Regions from separate parts of the Homo sapiens genome. Here region 1 is linked to region 2. Evidence: promoter capture Hi-C in human tissues and cell types (Jung and others, 2019). All regions are on one chromosome and are shown on one strand. The core of a region is centred on a gene start or on the middle of the fragment in contact, and the rest is flanking DNA. Distances in the headings are between cores, read along the strand shown.

The links. The method cuts DNA at HindIII sites, captures the fragments that hold promoters and counts their contacts. A contact is called where the count stands out against the background at its distance.
Region 1: a contact is called between a fragment that was not itself captured here and the fragment with the promoter of FAM149A in region 2, in 1 of the 25 tissues and cell types used here (mesendoderm cells).

Annotation. Positions count from the first base shown.
Region 1 is chr4:186,058,441-186,062,444 of GRCh38, forward strand. No RefSeq gene overlaps it. Among named protein-coding and RNA genes, the nearest start is that of TLR3, 8.7 kb to the right of the region's middle. The HindIII fragment of the contact is 3,511 bases long and covers 1-3,365 here.
Region 2 is chr4:186,103,454-186,107,554 of GRCh38, forward strand. It overlaps FAM149A (family with sequence similarity 149 member A), which reads left to right and starts at 1,251. Exons shown (of 14, transcript NM_001395294.1): 1 at 1,251-2,189. The coding sequence starts at 1,624. RefSeq lists a silencer at 1,171-1,230. The HindIII fragment of the contact is 14,554 bases long and covers 1-4,101 here.

The sequences.
Region 1 (4,004 bases), core at 360-2,859, 45 kb before region 2:
GGTCTGCGTTCTTGACAATTATGAATAGGGAACTTGGTTATGAGCCAGCCTTCAGGGGCTCTATATACTTTTCCCTGTTTTTCTCTTTTTGACTCTCATAATAAGTTGTTTTCTATGCTGTCTAAGACAACTTATGCCCTACTCTCTGGAAATCTCTATTATTTGGGCTACTCAAGTACCTCCCCCAACACACCCACCAAAAAAAAACTAGGCTTAAAACTGAGATCAAGGCATCAAGGAGTCAACTGTAATACAGCTTTTTAAAAATCTGTCCTGACCCAGTTGTGAGAAGCTGGTCAGAGGCTGGTCAGCTCCCCTCATCGAGGAGGTGATTAAGTCCACAACTGAACCACTTCCCTTACAGGGCTCTCACGCTGCAGGCCACTACACAGCCACCCGAATCACCTTAGGGCCAGTTACCATAGCACAAGGGACAGCCCCTATCCCCCAGAGCCCTCTGAAAGTATTCAAATAGCCAACCCACAGGAAACCCACAGAATCTAGCCAGCTCCACCCAGCTTGCCATACGCACACTGCTTCCCACATCTCCAGGTTGCCGTTAACCCGGCCTAGGCTCAATCCCCTGCGTGGCCCTGCCTGGCAGCCTTCTCTATTTGGAACTGTAAGTAACAAATAATTCTGCTTTTCACCTATCTGGGAGTCATTGTTTTTTGCCCTGTCATCAAAACAATCTTTAAATCATATAAAAGAGTTGAGTATTTGTATCATAAAAGGGTTTTTAACAGGAGCAAATGCTTTTTCTGCATCATATGAGATGATCATGTGTTTTTGTTTTTATTTATTATTATTATTATTGGTAGCATTTTTTTTGAGGCAGAGTCTTGCTCTGTTGCCCAGGCTGGAGTGCAGTGGCACGATCTCAGCTCACTGCAACCTCCACCTCCCGGGTTCAAGCAATTCTCCTGCCTCAGCCTCCCAAGTAGCTGGGACTACAGGCACCCACCAACACACCAGGCTAATTTTTGTATTTTTAGTAGAAACGGGGTTTCACCATGTTGGCCAGGCTGGTCTCAAACACCTGACCTCAGGTGATCCACCCGAGTTGGCCTCTCAAAATGCTGGGATTACAGGCGTGAGCCACCGTGCTGGGCCGATCATGTGGCTTTCTTTCTCATTCTGTCAATGTGGAATATTACCTCGATTAATCTTTGTTTGTTGAACCATCAAGGCATTCCGGGAATAAATCCCACTTGGTCATGATGTATAGTCTGTTAAATATGTTGCTAGCATTTTGTTAAAGATATTTATATCGGTATTTATAAGGGATACTGGCCTATAATTTTCTTTTCTTGTGGTGACTTTGGCTTTGGTAGTAGGGTGATGCTGGCCTCATCAAATAAGTTAGAAGTGTTCCTTTGTCTCCCATTTTTTGGAAAGGTTTGACAAAGGTTGGTGCTAATTTTTCAAACGTGTGGTAGAATTCATCAGTAAGCCATCTAGTTCAGAGATCTTGTTGTTGGAATGCTTTGGTTACTGATTCAAACTCCTTACTAGTTATAGGTCTATTCAGATTTTCTATGGCTTCATGTTTCGGTCTTGGTAGGTTGTGTGTTTCTAAGGATTTGGCCATTTCACTGACATTATCCAATTTGTTGGCATATGGTTCTTCACAGTACTCTTATAATACATTTTTAAAAAATAGAATCCGTTTTAATGCCTCTTTTTCCTTTCTGGTTAGAATTATTCTGGTTAGAATTATCTGGTTAGCTATATTATCAGCAGTTTCTTTGTGGTTATCGTGGGAATTGCATGCAACATTTTAAAGGCATACCAATTTAATTTGAATTGATACCAATTTAACTTTAATTGCACACAAGTGGACTTATAAATATCTCCACCTCCTGTGACTTTATGCTATTTATGTCCAGAGTACGTCTTTATACAACATGTACTCAACTAACATAGATTTATAATTATTTTTATGCATTTATCTTTTAAATTCTCCAGAAAAGAAAAAAGTGAAGTTACAAACCAAAATTATAATAAAACGTTTCTTTTTTAACCATGTGCCTAAGCTTACTGAAGATCTTTATGTCTTTATATGGCTTTGAATTACCATCTAGAATGATTTTATTTTAATCTAAAGGATCCCTAGTCTTTAGCATGTCTTGTAGGGCAGATCTAGTGATAATGAACTCCCTCCACTTTTCCTTATCTGGGAATGTCTTAATTTCTCCTTCATTTTTGAAAGACAGTTTTGCCAGATATAGAATTCATGATTGACAGATTTTTTTTTTTCTTTCAGCACTTTAAATATATCACCTCACTGCATTCTGGCCTCAAAGGTTTTTACTAACAAATCCACCAATAATTTTACTGAGGATCTTTTGTATGTTGTGAGTAACTTCTCTCTTGCCGCTTTCAAGATTATGTGTGTCTTAGACTTTTATTTTGATTATAATGTGTCTCAGTGTGAGTCTCTTTAGGTTCATCTTACCTAAAGTTCATTGGGCTTCTTGGATTTTTAGACTCGTGTATTTCATCACATCTGTGAAATTTGGGACCATACTTCTTCACACCACCTCCTTGCCCCGTTCTGTGTCTCTTCTTTTTCTGAAACTCCCCTAATGCCTATAGTGGCCTGCTTGCCAGTGTTTCATAAGGCCATGAGACTCTATTCCCTTTTGTTTATTCTTTTTTTTCTTTCCTGTTTTGCTCCTCAGACTCAATAATTTTAATTGTCTTGCCTTTAAATTTACTGATTCTTTCTTCTGCTTTCTGAAATCTGCAGTTGAAATCCCTCTAGTAAATTTTTCAATTCAGTTGTATTTTTCAGCTGCATAATATATATATATATATAAAAATATATATATATATATAATTTCAACTTCTCTGCTGACTTTTTTTTTTTTTTGAGACAGAGTTTTGCTCTGTCACCCAGGCTGGAGTGTAGCGGTGCGATCTCGGCTCGCTGCAACCTCTGCCTCCCAGGTTCAAGTGATTCTCCCACCTCAGCCTCCCAAGTAGCTGGGATTACAGGTGCGTGCCACTATGCCCAGCTAATTTTTGTATTTTTAGTAGAGACAGGGTTTCACCATTTTGGCCAGGCTGGTATCAAAGTCCTGACCTCAAGTGATCAGCCCACCTCGGCCTCCCAAAGTGCTGGGATTATAGGCATGGGCCACTGCTGTGGTCTCTGCTGACATTCTTATTTTGTCCGTTCATTGTAGTCCTCATTTTCTTTGGTTCTTTGTGTTTTTCTTTAGGTCTTTGAGCATATTCAAGACAGCTATTTTAAAGTCTTTGTCTAGTAGGTCCAATATACATGCTTTCTAGGGATATTATCTGGAGATTTACATTTTCCTTTGATTGGACCATGTTTTACTGCTTCTTTGTGTACCCTATGATTTTTTGTTGGCACTTAAATACTTGAATAAACAGCCACCTCTCTCAGCTTTTGCAGAGAGGCAAAAAGAGATAACCAGAAGCTGAGCTGCTGCCTCCTCTAGAACATGACCATGCTGAGCCAAGGACGGAGTGGGGCAGGGGTAACGAAAAATGCCATACAATTTCCTACATTTTTAAGGTGAATTTTTTATTAGGTATTTACGTGGTTGTTGTAGACCTTTGTTTTCCAGAGCTACTCTAAGATTTGTTCAGCAATTTTCTGGTCATTTTATGATAGTTCCATGGGGAAATGAGGAATTGAAACTTCCTAGTCTGCCATTTTGCTGATGTCAATCCTTTGAGGAAGTTTTGACTAGTTAAGACTATCACTTTGAAAAACCAAAAGCAAACAATAGATCAAGCAAAATTAGCAACACACTTAGACCAAAGCTAATTTCGGTAATGTCCATAAAACCTCTTACAAATCCATAATAAAAATATAAAAATCAAGTAAATGACATAAACAGCTAATTTAAAGAAAAAGAAATGCTACTTTTTTTTGATGACTTTAAAGTATACACTCACCTCTTAAACAGTCCTATTTCTAGATAAAGAATAAGACTAGGCATTCTATACATGCTGTAAACTATATTAGA
Region 2 (4,101 bases), core at 1-2,500:
TGCTTAATGCAATCTTGAAGCAGACAAGTGCCCAGTACATGTTGGTGGCAGTTAGATGTAGAAAAGGGATCATGACAGAAGACTTGTTAACTGCCTCCAAATAACGCAAAACTTAGCATTACCTGGAAGTTTACCGTGGCTCAGACTCCAGTTTGATAACTTACAAAAGATTCAAGTATATAAGCATGAATGTCAGTTTATTCACTGCCAGACTTAATTCATCTCTTTTCCCTACCCCACATCAGGAAATGTATCTCCTGAGATCCTCTCCTGAATATTAATGGACAAACTCCATCAATATCTCATTACTATTTTTTTGACACAGGGTCTCACTCTACTGCCCAGGCTGGAATGCAGTGGTGCGATCACGGCTCACTCCAGGCCCAAGCGATCACCTCAGCCTCCCGAGTACCTGGGACTACAGGCATGCGCCACCAGGCCCGGCATTTTTTTTTTTTTTAAATATTTGTAGAGATGGGGTCTCCCTATGTTGTTGCCCAGGCTGGCCTGGAACTCCTGGGCTCAAGCCATCCTCCCACCTCCCAATCCCGGTGCTGGGATTACAGGTATGAGCCACCGAGCCTGGCTGCAGTATCTTATTTTTTAACTCTGTTCAACACTGACCCCACACCCCTTTAGATGCTCGCACCTATACGCTCTACCTTTCACACATATTTTTCAGATTAAGCAAAATACAATTTATTCCACTGAATAGAAAACGTTGCCTTCCATATCTGTCTTTGAATTTGTAGTCGTTCCGATTATAATTTGAGTTCTCAAACATTTGAATTACACAGTCTCTTGGTTCACTCCGACAGGTGTTTAAACAGGTGTGCGTAGGTCTTTCTACTTCAGCTCTCAGAGCCGGTCTTGTTTGCAGGTTAGTGGGTGGCGCACCTCGCGGTTGCTCCCACCCCACCCTTAGTAACAGGGTTTGAGTAGGACCCTGGGGTGGGGGAGTGGATGCTGCTGTTTCAAGCTCGTTCGCCCAAATACATCTTTCTACCCACCTTCCCTATCGTCAGAGAGGTGGCCTGACCCCAGCACGTGCAAGCTTGTCAGGCTGGGTAAGTTCCAGAACCTTCTGGAGCCAGGATTCTCTTTCCCAGCCCTGGGCCCTGAGCTCGGCGGATGGGATCTGCGAGGCTCGGGGCGCAGGGGAAATGGGGGCGTGTTCCTTTAAGGCGGAACCAGGCGGGGAGTGGGACGTCCCCCGCGGGCACAGCCCGAGCCGCACCTGGGGCCCAATTAGCCTGGAGCGCGGCCGGGTGTGTTGAACGTAGCAACCGCGGGCGGCGGGCGGCGGGCGGCGGGCGTCTGGGGCGGGCGGCGGCCGCGCTTCCCGGGGCTCCTGGCCCTTCGGCCCTCGGGGGTCTCACGGCGCTGGGACGAGGCGGGGCTGCTCTCCGCAGCCGGGGCGCTCGGCGGACGGACCCGGGCCGGGGAAGGGCGACCCCAGCGGCGCGGAGCTGAGCGTCCTCGGGGAGGAGAGGGAGCCAGGGGCCTCCGGGGCTCCGGGTGCGGGGACCTCAGGCTCCTCGCCCCGGCCCGGGCCGCCTCGGCCGGATCTCCGCGGTCTGAACTCTCGGGCGGCGGCGAGGACGGCGTGTCCACTGTCGAGGCATGAAGGCTGCTGTGCTGGACCTTGGGTCTCTCTTGGCCAAACTCTTCGAGACCTCGACGGCGCCCCCCGCAGGCCCCTCCTCCAGACCCTCGGGAGGTGCTGCCGCTGCAGGGTCGGGGGGCTCCAGGGCGGGCACCCCGTTGGGTACCGCCCCGACCCTCCTCCGCGCCCTGGCTCCGGACTCCCCCTCCGCCTCGCGGCGGTCGCCCGCCCCGCTGCTCTCCTCCCCCTACTCCCGGGGCTCCGCCGCCAGCCGCGCCGCGGGAGCAGTGGGGACCCTGCTCTCTTGGCCCAGTAGCCCTAGAGCGGGTAAAGCCCCGCCCCAGCCCCCCACTCCCTCCGGCGGGGGCTGCTCCCCTGCTCGCCTGGTGGTCCCAGCGCGGCCGCCCTCGGGCCCCGGCGGGGTCTGGGCCGCGCTCCCCAGGAACCCGCTCCAGCCTGGCCCCGGAGAGCGAGAGCTCGGCGCCTGCGTGGCCCCCGGGGCTGGCCCCAGAACCCTGTTCCTTACGCTGCCTGACATCGGCGAGGAGGGGGCCTCGGACGGCGACTCCGGGGATGGCGAAGCGTGAGTAGCAGCGTGGTCCGGGCGCGTGTACCTTTTGCCGGGACCCCCGACCCCTCCGCCTGCCGCACTCACCTTCGCAGGTGCACTTCAGGAAATGAAATATTTGTAGTAACTTTCATAACCCCCTGGGCACCCTCCTTGCACGTTTCCTGGGTTTTTACTCCTTGGCTTTGCGGGCTTTCAGACATAAGCTGTGACATGCTTTGTCCAGCTTTCTCAGAGTGAATCCTAAGGGGCCTTGAAGGAAGGGACAGAATTTTGTTTCTCTTCTACCAGAAGCATTGCTACTTAGAGTGTTTGTTTGGTTTTCTTAAGGACTTTTTGAAGTCCCTTTCTTTGTCTCAGAATATAGCAGGTGTGCAGGGAAACCGAATACACACGTCTGCAGCAAGTGTTTTAAGAAGTGGTGAGACCTGGTGCTTTCCTAATGTCTAAGGACCAGTCCCTAGTCTTATCCTAAGTGGGATGGGTCTCCTTTGTGTGACATCTAGTTAATTTACATATGCATGACATCATCTGACACAAATGGAGTTGTAATGGCCAGGACACGTCTGATTATTACCCTAGAGCTCCTGAGAGCTTTCCACAGTGCCCTGAGTCACTGCAGAAACGTTGACTTCATGGGAACATTTTCACTGGGAATCGGAGGCCGATTCCCTCAACACACACACACCCACACAACACCCCTTTCACTTCCAAGAGTCGTGATAAAAACATTGCTCTTTTAAAATGTGTTTTAGAACTAGGATGAATTTTAATTTTTAGAGTGGAGCATATCGTTAGCTATTCTTGAGTGGGTAAATTTTCATCCTGAATGCTGCAAAGAAATAGTGAAATGGTCAAAGACAGATGAGCCAATTCACAGACTGAGGTTTCTGCATTGTAATCTAGTGAGGCCATTCCCTACTCCCTCCAAAAAATCCTGAGTAATTTTTGCATTCATACTGATCCTGACTCACTCACAATTTAAATAATTACAGTTTCACAAAATTGAATGATATTCATGTCAATATGAAAACAAGCGGCCGGGCACGGTGGCTCACGCCTGTAATCCCAGCACTTTGGGAGGCCGAGGCGGGCGGATCATGAGGTCAGGAGATCGAGACCATCCTGGCTAACACGATGAAACCCCGTCTCTACTAAAAATACAAAAAATTAGCCGGGCGTGGTGGTACGTGCCTGTAGTCCCAGCTACTCGGAAGGCTGAGGCAAGAGGATGATGGCGTGAACCCGGGAGGCGGAGCTTGCAGTGAGCCAAGATCGCACCATTGCGCTCCAACCTGGGCGACAGAGAGAGAGACTCCGTCTCAAAAAAACAACAACAAAAAAGAAAATAAGCAGTTAAGCAAAAAGTTGTTCCCACTCATTAAAAAATACTATATTATGACATATGTTTATCAACTGATAGTTTTCCCTATCAGTTAATTGCTTTTGGAAAACTCACTGGAATACATATGCCTGAGGAATTAGATCTTTGTTATTGGCAACTGGTCCTTAACATTTATGCAATTAATGTTTTATGAGCAAACAGATCTACACACTGACCTTAAACTCTAGTCTTAGTGCTTTTAACAAATAGGCACTGAAATATGCAGCATGGCCAGTGAAACTGGTGTTAGTTTCAATTCTTGAACATATTAGCTCATGTTTATATTGTGCAAATATTTGGAATAGATACTTTTTGAATAACACTGCATTTGGCATTATTTACATAAGAGATTATTCTGAATTAACAAATGCATTCAATTTTATGGACAGTGAAGAAATTGAATTTTTAAATTATTATTACTTTTTGAGATGAGGTCTCCTTCTGTCACCCAGGTTGGAGTGCAGTGGTATGATCACTGTTCATTGCAGCCTCAACCTCCCAGGCTCAAGCGATCTGATTCTCCCGTCTCAGACTCTCGAGTAG